Linked DNA regions of Homo sapiens: region 2 is linked to region 1. Evidence: promoter capture Hi-C in human tissues and cell types (Jung and others, 2019). All regions are on one chromosome and are shown on one strand. The core of a region is centred on a gene start or on the middle of the fragment in contact, and the rest is flanking DNA. Distances in the headings are between cores, read along the strand shown.

What was found. Contacts are between HindIII fragments. The study calls those that stand out against the background at their distance.
Region 2: a contact is called between the fragment with the promoter of ILF3 here and the fragment with the promoter of TYK2 in region 1, in 1 of the 25 tissues and cell types used here (lymphoblastoid cells).

Annotation. Positions count from the first base shown.
Region 1 is chr19:10,377,202-10,384,829 of GRCh38, forward strand. It overlaps TYK2 (tyrosine kinase 2), which reads right to left and starts at 3,371. Exons shown (of 25, transcript NM_003331.5): 1 at 3,179-3,371; 2 at 2,414-2,578; 3 at 1,013-1,225. The coding sequence starts at 1,205. RefSeq lists enhancers at 3,269-3,428, 3,337-4,000. The HindIII fragment of the contact is 20,387 bases long and covers 1-7,628 here.
Region 2 is chr19:10,650,411-10,658,038 of GRCh38, forward strand. It overlaps ILF3 (interleukin enhancer binding factor 3), which reads left to right and starts at 3,936. Exons shown (of 20, transcript NM_017620.3): 1 at 3,936-4,077. ILF3-DT (ILF3 divergent transcript) reads right to left here and starts at 3,462. Exons shown (of 1, transcript NR_024333.1): 1 at 1,452-3,462. RefSeq lists enhancers at 1,944-2,446, 2,447-2,948, 2,814-2,983, 3,224-3,693 and silencers at 3,784-4,023, 4,104-4,263. The HindIII fragment of the contact is 14,146 bases long and covers 1-7,628 here.

The DNA.
Region 1 (7,628 bases), core at 2,121-4,620:
GCCAAGTTTTCTGATTTATTATATTTCTTGCTGTCCTCCCTACTAAAATTTCAGCTCTACAAAGGCAGTGATTTGCAGCTGCCACACAGTAGATGCTTACAAAATGTTCACCGAATGAACGGGTGGATGGATGGATGGATGGATGGATGGATGGATGGATGGATGGATGGATAGATGGATGAATAGGTGGGTGGGTGGGTGGATGGATGGATGGATGGATGGATGGATGGATGGATGGATAGATGGATGAATGGGTGGGAGGATGGATGGGTGGGTGGATGGATGGATGCATGGATAGGTGGGTGAGTGGGTGAGTGGGTGGGTGGATGGATGGATGGATGGATGGGTGGGTGGGTGGATGGATGGGTGGGTGGGTGGATGGATGGATGGATGAATGGATGGATGGGTGGATGGATGGGTGGATGGGTGGGTGGATGGATGGGTGGATGGATGAATGGGTGGGTATGGATGGATCGATGGGTGGATGGATGGATAGATGGATGAATGGGTGGGTGGATGGATGGGTGGATGGGTGGGTGGGTGGATAGGTGGGTGGATGGGTGGGTGAGTAGGTGGATGGATAGGTGGATAGGTGGGTGGATGGATGAGTGGGTGGGTGGATGTATGGATGGATGCGTGGGTGGATGGATGGGTGGGTGGGTGGGTGGATGGATGCGTGGGTGGATGGATGGGTGGGTGGGTGGGTGGATGAATGGGTGGATGGGTGGATGGGTGAAAGGGTGGGTGGATGGGTGAATGGGTGGGTGAATGGGTGGGTGGATGGGTGGATGGGAGGATGGATGGATGCATGGGTGGATGGATGGGTGGGTGGGTGGATGGATGGGTGGTTGGGAGGGTGGATGGGTGGGTGGATGGGTGGATGGATGGATGGATGGATGAGTGGGTGGATGGGTGGGTGGATGGGTGGGTGGGTGGATAGACGGATGGATGGGGCCCAGCTGCTGCTTGCACACCCACCCCAGTCCCCATGGTGCCAACGCCCCAGACTCACCAACTTTATGTGCAATGTGGATGCAGACTTCCTCAGCTGTCAGCGATGACTCACTGAAAGTGACCCAGGGCTCCCCGCCGCCTGGACCAGCCCAGTGCAGAAGCACCTTCAGGCCTCCCATGGCAGCCATGGGCTGGGCTCCATCCCCAACGGGCTTACTGCCCCTGGCCATCCCCCAGTGGCGCAGAGGCATGCTCCCGGCAGGTGGCTCAGCTGGAAAGGGGACAATCTGTCAGCTCCCAAGTCTCAGCCCAGAGACCCCTGTTAGCTCTTCAACCTTCCACCCACCCCAGCTAAGGCCTGAGGGGAAGATTCTGGGCTCCCATCTTGGCATGACATTAGAGACCCGATTCCCTCTCTGAGTCTCGTTTTCCACATTTATTGGACAGGGTTGGGGTATGCATCCCCACCTAGATCTCTCATCAACAATAACACTGAACCCTCCTCTCTTTCCACAAATTGACACAGATATAAAAATCTGCTCTGGCCAGGTACAGTGGCTCACGCCTCTAATCCCAGGACTTTGGGATGTTGAGGCAAGAGGATTGCTTGAGCCCAGGAGCTCGAGACCAGCCTAGGCCATATAGCAAGACCCTGTTTCTACAAGACGTTTTATTTTATATCTTATCTTATCTTATCTTATCTTATCTTATCTTATCTTATCTTATTTTTGAGACAGAGTTTCACTCTTGTTGCCCAGGCTGGAGTGCAATGGTACAATCTTGCTCACCACAACCTCTGCCTCCTGGGTTTAAGTGATTCTCCTGCCTCAGCCTCCTGAGTAGCTGGCGCCTGCCACCACACCGGGCTAATTTTTGTATTTTTAGTAGAGACAGGGTTTTGCCATGTTGGCCAGGCTGGTCTTGAACCTCTGACCTCAGGTGATCCACCCGCCTCGGCCTCCCAAAGTGCTGGGATTACAGGCGTGAGCCACTGTGCCCGGCCTCTACAAGAAATTTTTAAAATTTAGCCAGGCGTGGGGGTGCACATCTGTACTCCAAGCTACTCGGGAGGCTGAAGTGGGAGGATCTCCTGAGCCCAGGAGTTGGAGGCTGCAGTGAGCAGTGATCGCACCACTGCATTCCAGCCTGGGTGACAGAGTGAGACCCTGACTCTAAAAATATAAATAAATAAATAAATAAATAAGTAATAAAAATATATAAAAAGGGCCAGGCGCGGTGGCTCATGACTGTAATCCCAGCACTTTGGGAGGCCAAGGCGGACAGATCACGAGGTCTGGAGATTGAGACCATCTTGACCAACATGGTGAAACCCCATCTCTACTAAAATACAATAAATAAATAAATAAATAAATAAATAAATAAATAAAAAGTAAAATAAAAATCTGCTCTTAACACACCTCCCCAAAATAACCAGACAGGCAGATGTGGTCAAACATACCTGAGGGTGAGTCCTGGAGCTCCCTGTGTCAACTCAAGCAAGCCACTTAGCAATTCTGGGCCTCAGTTTCCCCATCTGGAAAAGGGAGGTCCTCAGGGTGTTGCCATCAAAAGATGGTTGTAATGTTTCAATATAGTTCCGCATATTACACATTCAGCACAGACCCTGATTCAGGCACACACAAAAAGAACAAATATGACCAAAACAAGAATAACATAATTGTTATTAGTTTCATCGTGGTGATGGCCTCTTTCAGGCCACAATTCTCCTCTCCCACATTTACCCCCATGAGTGACCTCAGTCCCTGTTGACTCCCCAAAGCCTAGGAGAGTTTATGTCCAGCTCCATCCCCCCAATCCAGGGCCTGAGCCTCCTGAGGGCGCCAGTATGGAAGTGGAGGGGCTGTCACTTCCACCCATGTTGCTGGTTTCCTCATCTGGAAAATGGGCATGTAACAGTGTCTACCTCAAAAGGCTGCTGGGAGGATTTAACGCGAGGAGGCAGAGAAAGTGCCTGGTATACAGTAAGCGCTTAATTAGCCTTTGCCATTAATACCTATTCATGTTATAGATGAGATCCCGGGGATGGGGCTTTCGCGGAGCCTACTTCCTCCTTCCTCCTTTCTCGTCCCCACTGGACCCAGACCCAGCTTTGAAGACAGGGTCGGAGTGAAGTTTGCAACTGGGAAGGCTGCACGCCCCCATGTCCTCCCCCCAAAACCTCTAAACCCGGCCGGCAACGGCGGGAACTGGGATGTGCACCCACCGGGCATCGGAGCAGTCCCGAGGCACCAGGTGCTCCCATCCAAGTGCAGCCTGTCAAGCGCAGCCAGTCCCCGCGGCTTCTTCCTGAGGACCTCCGGCCGCGCTCCTTCCGCGCCCGCGTCCAGACTCACCCTTCCGGGGGAACACAAGCTCGAACCCGGACCCCTCCCCGCTCCCGCGGGTAGCTACTGCTTGTCCCCCGCCGAGACGCCTCCTCCCATTGGCCGCCTGAAACGCACACGCCCATTGGCAGCTGCTCTGTTCTCCCTGCTCGTCACCATTGGATTTTTTTTTTTTTGCCATGGTGGCGGCACTCTCATTGGTCCTGGGGCTCATTCGTCACTCAGCCGCGATTGGCTGAGTCGGCACCCAGATGCGCTGTCGCTTCTGCTATTGGCTGGCACTCGGTGGACGGAGACGGGGGAGGGGCTTGCGAGAGGCGGGAGGGAGAGCGAAGTGTGTGGGCAACGCGGCCGGATCCTGGAGTTCCCCTCCGTGCTGTGGAATTGGGTCAGGCGTGTACGGTCCTGACCCTAGGACACAGCTGCATGTCCTCACCTCGGTGTTCAAAGCTGCACCGGCCACCATTCAACCCTCCGACGCCCTGCCCTTTGGCTTCCCCGTTCCATCCGGTCCTGTCTCCTTTCCCTCGTTTCTACCTGGCCGACTCCATCCTGCTGACTAGAATTCCCCCTCCTTCACTCCTGGGAGGCATTCCTCGCCCACCTGCCCCAGTCCTCTTCCTGATCACCTGCAGCCCTGTCCTCTGAAGCTCCCTAGCGGTCAGGGTAGCAGCTTGGACATCCCGCCAGACGTGAATTCAAATCCCCACTCCGCAAGTCGTGCCCATTTGCTGAGAAGCCTACAGCCAGAGCGTTTCACATACATTATCTCATTTGATCCTAGCAGCAATTCCCTGTATGGCGGCTCTTATTATCCCCATTTCACAGAGGAAGAAACTCAGGCATGAAGAGGTAACAAAGACCGTCCTCTGACCCTTCTTCTGTGCCACACCATAACCACTCCTCGACTTTGTCTTTCACCTGCCCAGCCAAGTCTTAGCAAAGAAGCCTATTAAGTCATCCGCTCATCCTTGATGTCTGATCAACTTCCTCATCTTCCACTTTTTTTTTTTTTTTTTTTTAAGATGGAGTTTCGCTCTTGTCGCCCAGGCTGGAGTGCAATGCTGCGATCTCGGCTCACTGCAACCTCAGACTCCCGGATTCAAGCGATTCTCCTGCCTCAGCCTCCTGGGTAGCTGGGACAACAGGCGCCCGCCACCACGCCCGGCTAATTTTTGTATTTTTAGTAGAGATGGGATTTCACCATCTTGGCCAGGCTGGTCTCGAACTCCTGACCTCGTGATCCACCCTCCCAAAGCGCTGGGATTACAGGCGTGAGCCACCGCACCCGGCCCTTTTGTTGTTAATTTTTAAATTTTGTGGCTAATTTTTAAATTTTTGTAGAGATGGGGTCTGGCTATGTTGCCCAGGCTGGTCTTGAACTTCTGGCCTCAAGCAATCATCCTGCCTTGGCTTTCCAAAGTGCTGGGATTACAGATGTGAGCTAAGACACCCAGCTCCATGGAGTTGGTCTTAACTGCCATGGCCAAGGGACATGTGGCTGCTTCTCTCTGAGTCAGAAAATATGGGTAAAAAGCCTCCTCACAGGGCAGCTGTGGACATTCAGTATGAAAATGCTGAAAGAGATCGGGAATGGTCTCTTTCACACCTGTAATCCCAGCACTTTGGGAGGTGGAGGCGGGCGGATCACCTGAGGTCAGGAGTTCAAGACCAGACTGGCCAACATGGTGAAACCCTGTCTCTACTAAAAATGCAAAAATTAGCTGGGCATGGTGGTGGGCACCTGTAATCCCAGCTATTCAGGAGGCTGAGGCAGGAGAATCGCTTGAACTTGGGAGGCAGAAGTTGCAGTGAGCCGAGATCACACCATTGCCCTTCAGCCTGGGCAACAAGAGCTAAACTCTGTCTCAAAAAAAAAAAAAGAAAAAGAAAAAGAAAGAAAATGCTGATAGAGGCCGGGCACAGTGGCTCACGCCTGTAATCCCAGCACTTTGGGAGGCCGAGGTGGGCGGATCATGAGGTCAGGAAATCGAGACCATCCTGGCTAAGGCGGTGAAACCCCGTCTCTACTAAAAATACAAACAATTAGCTGGGCGTAGTGGCAGCCTGAGGCAGGAGAATGGCGTGAACCGGGGAGGCGGAGCTTGCAGTGAGCCGAGATTGCGCCACTGCACTCCAGCCTGGGCGCCAGAGTGAGACTCTGTCTCAAAAATAAAATAAAATAAAATAAAATAAAATGCTGATAGAGACTTGTCCTGGCTGGATGCAGTGGCTCATCCCTATAAACCTAGCACTTCAGGGAGCTAAAGAAGGAGTACTGTCTGGGCCCAGTTCAAGACCAACCTGGGCAATATAGCAAGACCCCATCTCTACCCAAAATAAAAAAAATTAGTCTAAGGCTGAAGTATGAGAATCGCTTGAGCCCAGGAGGTGGAGGTTGCAGTGGGCTGAGATCCCACCACTGCACTCCAGCTTGGGCTACAGAGTGAGACTCCATCTCGGGGGGAAAAAAAATTAGTTAGTCCCAGCTACTCCGAAGGCTGAGGTGGGAGGATTGCTTGAGCCCAGGAGGTTGAGGCTACAGTGAGCCGTGATCACACCACTGCACTCCAGCCTGGGCAACTTGACCTCCTGGGCTCTGCTGTATTTTCTTCAGAGTCCTTATTGCAACCTGACATTTCATGGGAAGTTTCTTTCTTTTTTTTTTTTTTTAAAGAGACAGAGTCTTGCTCTGTTGCCCAGGCTGGAGTGCAGTGGCGCAATCTTGGCTCACTGCAACCTCTGCCTCTCAGGTTCAAGCAATTCTCCTGCGTCAGCATCCCCGGTAGCTGGGATTACAGGCGTGCACCACCACGCCTGGCTAATTTTTGTATTTTTAATAGAGACAGGGTTTGGCCAGGTTGGCCATACTGGTCTCGAGCTCCTGACCTCAGGTGATCCACCCGCCTTGGCCTCCCAAAGTGCTGGGATTACAGATGTGAGCCACCGCGCCCAGCTGGGTTTCTCTTCTTTCTTTCTTTCTTTTTTTTTTTTTTTTTTTTTTTTTTGAGACAAGAATCTCGCTCTGTTGCCCAGGCTGGAGTGCAGTGCTGTGATCTCAATTCACTGCAGTCTCAACTTCCCAGATTCACCATTCACAATCTTCCACCTCAGCCTCCTGAGTAGCTGGGACTACAGATGTGCATCACGATGCCTGGGTAACTTTTTTTTTTTTGAGGCGGAGTCTTGCTCTGTTGCTAGGCTGAAGTGCAGTGGCACGATCTCGGCTCACTGTAATCCCTGCCTCCCAGGTTCTAGCGATTCTTCTGCCTCAGCCTCCAGAGAAGCTGGGATTACAGGCGTGTGCCACCACACCCAGCTAATTTTTTTGTATTTTTTAGTAGAGATGGGGTTTCACCATGTTGGCCAGGATGGCCTCAATCTCCTGACCTCATGATCCTCACGCCTCGGCCTCCCAAAGTGCTGGGATTACAGAAGTGAGCCACCGCGCCCAGCCGCCTGGCTAACTTTTGTGTGTGTGTATTTTTTATAGAAATGGGCTTCCACCAACCCCGTCTCTACTAAAAATACAAAAATTAGCCGGGTGTGTTGGTGGGTGCCTATAATCCCAGCTACTTGGGAAGCTGAGGCAGGTGAATCACTTGAACCTGGGAGGCGGAGTTTGCAGTGAGCTGAGATCGCGCCACTGCACTCTAGCCTGGGCGACAGAGTGAGACTCTATCTCAAAAAAAAAAAAAGGAAAAGAAATGGGTTTTCACCATGTTGCCCAGGCTGGTCTCAAACTACTGGGCTCAAGTGGTCCTCCCGCCTTGACCTCCCAAACTGCTGGGATTACAGGCGCATGCCACCACACCCGGCTAATTTTTTAGTATTTTTTAGTAGGGACGAGGTTTCACCATGTGGGCCAGGATGGCCTTGATCTCCTGACCTCGTGATCCTCCCGCCTTGGCCTCCCAAAGTGCTGGGAATACCGGTGTGAGCCACCTCGCCTGGCCGGCTGGCTAACTTTTGTGTGTGTGTAATTTTTTTAGAAATGGGTTTTCACTATGTTGCCCAGGCTGGTCTCAAACTACTGGGCTCAAACTGCTGGGCTCAAGTGGACCTCTGGCCTTGACCTCCCAAACTGCTGGGATTACAGGCATGAGCCACCGTGCCCAGCCCCTGGGAAGTTTCTTTGAGCACAAGTTCTATTGCCTGTCTGCGGTTCTAGGACCGCACCAGAAAGAGGTCCGTCTGGTTGTCTGCTAAGCCCTCAGTGCCTGAGATTGTGCATCCAGCCCAGTAGGTGGCTTAAGAAGCCACAGCTGGAGGGGAATGAATGGCCTGGGAGCCAGGAATCCCTGGCTGTTGTCCTGCCTGCTGCGGGAG
Region 2 (7,628 bases), core at 2,686-5,185, 270 kb after region 1:
TCTGTTGCCTAGGCTAGAGAGCAGTGGCCCAATCTCAGTTCACTGCAGCCTCAACCTCCTGGGCTCAAATGATCCTCCCACCTCAGCCTCCTGAGTAGCTGGGACTACAGGTGTGTTCCACCATGCCCTGGCATTTTAACCAATTTTATCTTAGTGCATGCCCCAATCATCTTACCAAACCTTTCTTCAATTTCCAGCTCTATTTGTGAGACAGATCTGAGGCACAGGAAATGAAATTAAAAAGCCTGGTGCAGAATAACTTATCAATTTATGTGAAAAACAAGAATATGATTATGCACCTCTGAAAATAAAACTCTACTGTAGTTACACAAAAAACTGTACAATGGCTGGTCGCGGTGGCTCACGCATATAATCCTAGCACTTTGGGAGGCCGAGGCGGGTGGATCACGAGGTCAGGAGATCGAGACCATCCTGACTCACCCGGTGAAACCCAGTCTCTACTAAAAATACAAAACATTAGCCGGGCGTGGTGGTGGGCGCCTGTAGTCTCAGCTACTCGGGAGGCTGAGGCAGGAGAATGGCGTGAACCCAGGAGGCGGAGCTTGCAGTGAGCCAAGATCGTGCCACTGCACTCCAGCCTGGGAGACAGAGCAAGACTCCGTTTCAAAAACAAAAAACAAAAAACAAAACTGTACAATGGCTTCTAAGAGGGAGGGAACTGGATGTCTGAGGAAGACTTTGTGCTCTCATGTCTTTGGCACTTTTTTTTTTTTTTGAGATGGAGTCTCACTCTGTCGCCCAGACTGGAGTGCAATGGCACGATCTCAGCTCACTGCAACCTCTGCCTCCCGAGTTCATGCCATCCTCCTGCCTCAGCCTCCCGAGTCGCTGAGACTACAGATGCCCACCACCACGCCCGGCTAATTTTTTTTTGTATTTTTAGTAGAGACGGGGTTTCACTGTGTTAGCCAGGATGGTCTTGATCTCCTGACCTCGTGATCCGCCCACTTCAGCCTCCCAAAGTGCTGGAATTACAGGCGTGAGCCACCGCGCCCGGCGTCTTTGGCACATTTGACGTATCATGTGACTATGCTACCTATTAAAAATCCACAGTAAAATGTAAATAAAATAGAAAAGCAGAGGGTACAGCATGCACTCATTTCTTTTTTGAGACGGTCTAGCTGTGCCATCCAGGCTGAAAAGTGCAGTGACTCCATCACGGCTCACTGCAGCCTGGACCTCCACAGCTCAAGTGATCCTCCCACCTACTCCTCCCAAGTAGATGGAACTATGGACACAGGCCATCACGCTCAGCTAATTTTTGTAGAGACTGGGTTTTGCCATGTTGCTCAAGCTGGCCTCAAACTCCTGGGCTTAAGGGATCCTCCAGCCTCGGCCTCCCAAAGTGTGGGGATTACAGGCGTGAGCCACCATGCCCGGCTAGGCACTCATTTCTGTAATTGTTGCAGGAAACAAAGGACCAGAGAGACTGACACGGGAAACAGGAGGATTTATTTAGATGTACACCGGCTCAGTGGATTTGTATCTGAAAAGCTGACCATTGAACAAAGACTGAGTGTGGTTTTTATAGGCAAACTTACAGAAGCAAAACAAAAGCAGTTAATGATACAGTCACAGGTCATGTAATCTATAGCATAACTGCTGACTTAGCATAACTTGTGGCTTTGCACAGCTGTTGGCCTTGCAGCTGTGTCAAAAGAAAAACAGAGTCTACAAATCTTACTAAATACAACCATTGGCAAACAGTCATATTTAATGGTTCAGAAAAGGAGAGACAGTAAAGGAATTTTTCTTTTCAACTTTGCTCCGGAGGAGGCTGTCTGGAGCCCATTCCTTTGGCCTCGACTTTTCAGTGTTATAACTGTCCTTGAAGTAAGCTGGCTAAGCAGAGGAAAACTTGTTCTTGTTTTCTTTTTAACCCTTACCCCCTGCCACATAATCACATCTTTACACTTCTTTTTTTTTTTTTTTTTTTTTTTTAAGATGGGAAGTCGGAGTCTCGCTCTGTCGCCCAGGCTGGAGTGCAGTGGTGCCATCTCGGCTCATTGTAACCTCTGCCTCCCAGGTTCAAGTGATTCAAGCCATTCTTGTGCCTCTGCCTCCTGAGTAGCTGGGATTATAGGCGCACACCACCACACCTGGCGAATTTTTTTTTTTTTTTTTTTTTGAGGCTGAGTCTCACTCTATCGCCCAGGCTGGAGTGCAATGGAGCAATCTCGGCTCACTGCAACCTCCGCCTCCTGGGTTCAAGCGATCCTCCTGTCTCAGCTTCCTGATTAGCTGGGATTACAGGCGCCCTCCACCACACCCAGTTAATTTTTCTATTTTTAGTGGAGACGGTGTTTCACCATGTTGGCCAGGCTGGTCTCAAACTCCTGACCTCAAGTGATCCGCCCACCTCAGCTTCCCAAAGTGCTGGGATTACAAGCGTGAGCCACCACGCCCAGCCAGGAAACCCATTTTCAACACCTCCTTGCTCTTTTTTTTTTCTGAGACAGAGTCTCGCTCTGTCGCCCAGACTGGAGTGCAGTGGCGCAATCTCGGCTCACTGCAACCTCCGCCTGCCAGGTCAAACAATTCTCCTGCCTCAGCCTCCCAAGTAGGTGGGACTACAGGCATGTGCCACCACACCCGGCTAATTTTCTTTTGTATTTTTAGTAGAGACGGGGTTTCACCATGCTGGCCAGGCTGGTCTCGAACTCCTGACCTCGTGATCCGCCCGCCTCGGCCTCCCAAAGTGCTGGGATTACAAACGTGAGCCACCGCGCCTGGCCTTCCTTGCTCTTCTTGCTCCAAATCCTGGGAACGTCTGAATCAACAGGCGGACATCTGTCAAACCTTCCTAGCAACTACGCCTGCGGATGGCCAACCTGACCCTGGAAGACAGTGGGGTTTAGTTAAGCACAGATTGTACATCGGGGGCCTCATAAGGCGCCTGGAAGCATTCAAGAACACCACGCTTGTAAGGACAAAGCACTCGGTCACGGGCGCCTTTACTTCGGAGCTCCGCGCTGCTGCTGGACGAGCGTCCGTTGAGTCCCAGCCCCAATTTTTCCAGGAAATGGCGGTGAGCCCTCTAGTGAGATATTTTTTGGCCTGGGCCTCAGTTTCTCCATCTGTCAATGGGGGAAGGGGAAGGCGGGCTAGAGGACCCCGACCAGGTCGGCTGCAGCCTTCGGAAGCTACGGCCCAGGGACGCCACACCAAGGCAGGTCTGCGGGACGAAAGAACCCAAGAACCCGGGCGCGCATTGGCGCCGGTCCCGGGCTCAAGGGGCAGCAACGAGGAGACGCTGGACCTGGCCGTTCCTCGCACACATCTCTAACCTTCTGTGCCTCTCAAGGGAGATGGGGTGAGCATAGCCACCTCCACTGGAGCCCGAAAATCCCCGGCCGAGATACCGCCACTAAAAAGGTACACATGCGTCAAAGCCTCTCGGAGCCATTTCCGCTAACGTACTCAGGGCGACGGGCGTAAGATGGCGGCCGCGCAGGCGCAAAATGTCGCAGCCGTAGGGAGGCTCCGCCTCTGACGCTTGCCTTGCATCACGTGGTAATGGCCGCTCAAAAAACGCCTTAGCGAAAACCAGAGCGTGCCCTCGTCACGTGATGGAGGACTCCCAGTACGGCAAAGGGAAGGCGCCAAAAGTTGTCAGATGGCGAAGGAAACCGCGAAATTCGCCATTGTCACATGATGGAGCAACCTATCGAAAGCGGAGGGAAAGGTGCCGAAGTCACGTGACTACGCACGCAAACACTCCCGCTTGCACCACGTGCAACTCACGCCCACCCCCTCAGCCCCCCCCTTATCTCTTTTCGCCCCTCCCTCCCATTTGGGTTGGGCCTGCGTCGAGGCGCAACGCGGCGTCAAAGGGGGCGGGGCTTCAGCCGGTCACGTGTTCCCGCACCTCCCCGGCGCGCGCCTGCCCGCCCGCCCGCTCGCCCCCGGTCCGGACTCCTCCTCCTCCTCTTCTCGCCATTGCAGTTGGACCCAGCAGCCCGGCGCGCACCGCGTGGCTTTTGGGGGCAGACCCCGGCGGGCTGTGGCAGGAGGGCGGCGGCGGCGGCTGCGGTCGAAGAAGGGGACGCCGACAAGGTAAGCGTCAATGTGGCGGCGGCCGGGCCCGCTCCCGCCTCTGCCCCTCCCCCCGCCCGCCCTCAGTGAGATCCCCACTGAGGGTTCGCGGTGACAAGGCTGGAGGGATCCCACGCTCGCCGCCTCCGCCCGGTTCCCTCATCCCGGCGCCTGGCCCGTTCCTCCCTTGCCGGCCTCGCTCCCGCGCTCGGCCGTTAACTCTCTTCCATTGTGCGGAGGAAACAAAATGGCGGCTGCGGCGGCGGCGAGGACTCGGTGCGCGCGCAGCCGCTCCCCCCCGCACGCGGCCCCTCGGCCGGCGGCGGCGCCACGCGCGGGGGGGTGCGCGCGCACCGGGCCCCCGGCTGCCGCCTCCCCGCGGCTGGGCTTTTGTCTGTTGCGGGGGTCCTGGGGACGCGCGCACGTGCTTGGAGCACACACCCCCTCGGGTCCCGAGTTCCGCGGCGGGGCGACCCCCCTTCCTCACTCCTTCCCTACCCCCTCCTCCTCTTTGTCCCGGTCCCGCCCCCGATTCCAGGAGAGTCCCAGGTTCCCGAGGCGGGAAAAGTCGCCTCCTTTGTCCTCACAGGTCGCGGAGAGGCGGACCCCCTCCTTGGAAGCCCCTTCCCACGCGGATTGCTGAGGAAGCCTTTGTGGGTTCGTCGGGTTTCCAAATCTCTGGTCAGCCAGGCCTCTCTCAGATCAGGGTCAAAACTTGAGAGGGTTTCAGCTTTTTCTTTAGTTAGTTTGTTTTCATTGTTGAATGTTTTTCCAGATTGTTAGTATTTGCCTTCTCTAGACCGGCAATCTACTTGGGTGCAAGCCTGGGCCCCGAAACGTGGATGCTTAAAACCCATTTCTACCTTTATTTTCTCAAGTAGTTGAACGATTGAGATTCTCGAGGTTACTCATGAGGTTCTGCCCCAGTTAATTCACCGCCTGGATGAATTATTTGGGGTGTACGGCGGTCTGCATGCTCCTCCCCCAGTTCAGTGGCCAAATTTGAGGAGAATGAGGGATCTCTTCTCCACATTTCCAACATTGTTTGCCAGTTGCTGCTTAGGTGACATGGATCAGCAACGAAGCGTCGGTTTCAGTGGTTTCTTTTTCTGGACTCCGGTAATTCACTGCTGCTGAATCTTTTTCAAGATTTTGCTCTCTTTAAAATGAGTGGTGTGATGGCATATTTGTGGTCCACATGGAATCGCGAGGTGCCATCCGAAGTTAGGATTCAAATTTAGGACTTTAAGCTCTCTTTTCCTCAGGTATTTGTGGATGGGAATCTCCATGGATTGCTCAGAGTGCTGCCACTGTCCCTTGTGCGTGATGCTTTGTGTGTGGTCTCGTGGGATGTAGTTACAGTAGCCGCCCAGACTGTGAATGAAGTGTGGGAACCAGGGCCTCATTCACAGCTGGAAAGCAGGAGGAGGCCGCAGGACATTGGCAGGTGCTCCTCTCCCTGTTCCGTGGTGCTGGGGCCCCTTGCTTATGTGGGTGGCTCTTGGTCCCTGGGATTTGTGAATGGAGTCTGCAGGCCCCAGTGTTGTCTGGAATATTCTTTAGTTCAGATTGGAGGCTAGCAATGACTGCCAGGCTTGGCCTTGCCGCCACTGGGCGCTATTTATCACTCTCCCTATCTTCCTGGAGCTTAGCCGAGTCTTCCTGGAGCTGAGAGGTGCCTAATTGTTTGTGGTTTTTCTGATTGAACTTGTTTGGTGCCTCTAGGCAAAAATTCCTTTGGCTCCTTCTAGTATTTTCAGGGTCTTGAAGGCCCATATTCCTGAGCATGAGGAATCTAAGTCTGTTATTTTTTCCTAAATTTTCATGTTAAATACCACGTTGACAAAGGACAGCTGCTAATATTTTGATCACACAGATACAGACGGTGCTCCCTGGTTAAGGCCTCCAGGTAGGGGACAGGTAGAGTCAGTGATGGGGAAGAAGCCTTCTGTAAGTCCCTTTCCTTTGGGTAGACAGTAGATTACCCTTTAGGCTTTAGCAAGATGTGGGGGTTAGAAGTCTTCTATTCTTGGAAAAGCCTTTAGTCGTTTTCTTTGGGCTGGGGCCTCTTCTCTTAGGGACTGCTGTCACCCTTTCTCGGTTTCTTTTGATTACCTTTCATGGCCCCAGAGGAGTGATCCCTTCCCTTATTTATACCTCTTGGACTTGTCATCCTGCTACATTTTGTCAGCAAGTTAATTCACCTTGTGCAGTTTTGAAAGATGTGTAAGTGTTAACATTTAGTATTAGCATTTATGGCCCAGGAAATTGTGACCTTAATATTTGAATCTTGCTTTTATTAAACCTTTACAGGAACTAGGATTTTGTAGGGTTTTTTTTTTTTTTTTTTTTTTGAGTTAGAGTTTAGCTCTTGTTGCCCAGGCTGGAGTGCAATGGCGCGATCTCGGCTCACCGCAACCTCCACCTCCCGAGTTCAAGCGATTCTCCTGCCTCAGCCTCCCGAGTAGCTGGAATTACAGGCATGCTCCACTACACCTAGCTAATTTTGCATTTTTACTAGAGATGGGGCTTCTCCATGTTGGTCAGGCTGGTCTCGAACTCCGAACCTCAGGTGATCCACCGGCCTCGGTCTCCCAGAGTTGTGGGATTACAGGCGTGAGCCACCATGCCCAGCCTTCTAGGTTCTGTTTATTGGATGCTTTTTATCTTAACAAAGTCCTGGCAGAGAAAGATTTGATTTGTTTCCATCAGGAAGTTTGGAATCTGAGGCAGATAGTGGTTTGAGTGTCATCTTCACACAATGAATGAGTAGAGATTTGGGGCCTGGGAGGCACGAGGCAAACTTTAGTTTCCTACTGAAGCATTTGTCCGTTTTATCTGAAACAAGTAGATTGCCGATCTGTATTATTATACATAGTAAGCTGCTGTTGAAATGGTTGTGAAAGTAGAGTAGGCAGGTAGGTGGTGGTTAGGGGGCCTCATCGGTGCTGATTTTTAAGAAATTTTTATGATATTTATGATCTGTTATAAATCCTTGTGAAACTTTTCCATGAGAACACTTCACGGGTGATTCCATTATGAATAGCAATTGGTGGCCGGGTGCGGTGGCTCACGCCTGTAATCCCAGCACTTTGGGAGGCTGAGGTGGGCGGATCACGACGTCAGGAGTTCGAGACCAGCCTGACCAGCATGGTGAAACCCCGTATCTACTAAAAAAAAAAAGTACAAAATTAGCCAGGTACGGTGGCACACACCTGCAGTCCCAGCTATTCGGGAGGCTGAGGCAGCGAATCGCTTGTACGTAGGAGGCGGAGGTTGCAGTGAGCTGAGGTCGTGCCGCTGCACTCCAGCCTGTGTGATGGAGCAAGACTTCGTATGAAAAAAAAATAATAACAATTGGAAATTCAGATACATTTAGCATCAGCTGTATTTAGGCATCGTGTAAAAGTGATGTCCAGTTAAAATTTAATTTAATTTTTTTTTTTGAGACAGGGTCTCACTCTGTCACCCAGGCTGGAGTGCAGTCGCGTGATCTCCGCTCACTGCAGCCTCTGTCTCTGAGGCTCAAGAAGCAATCCTCCCACCTCAGCCTCCCAAGTAGCTGGAACCAC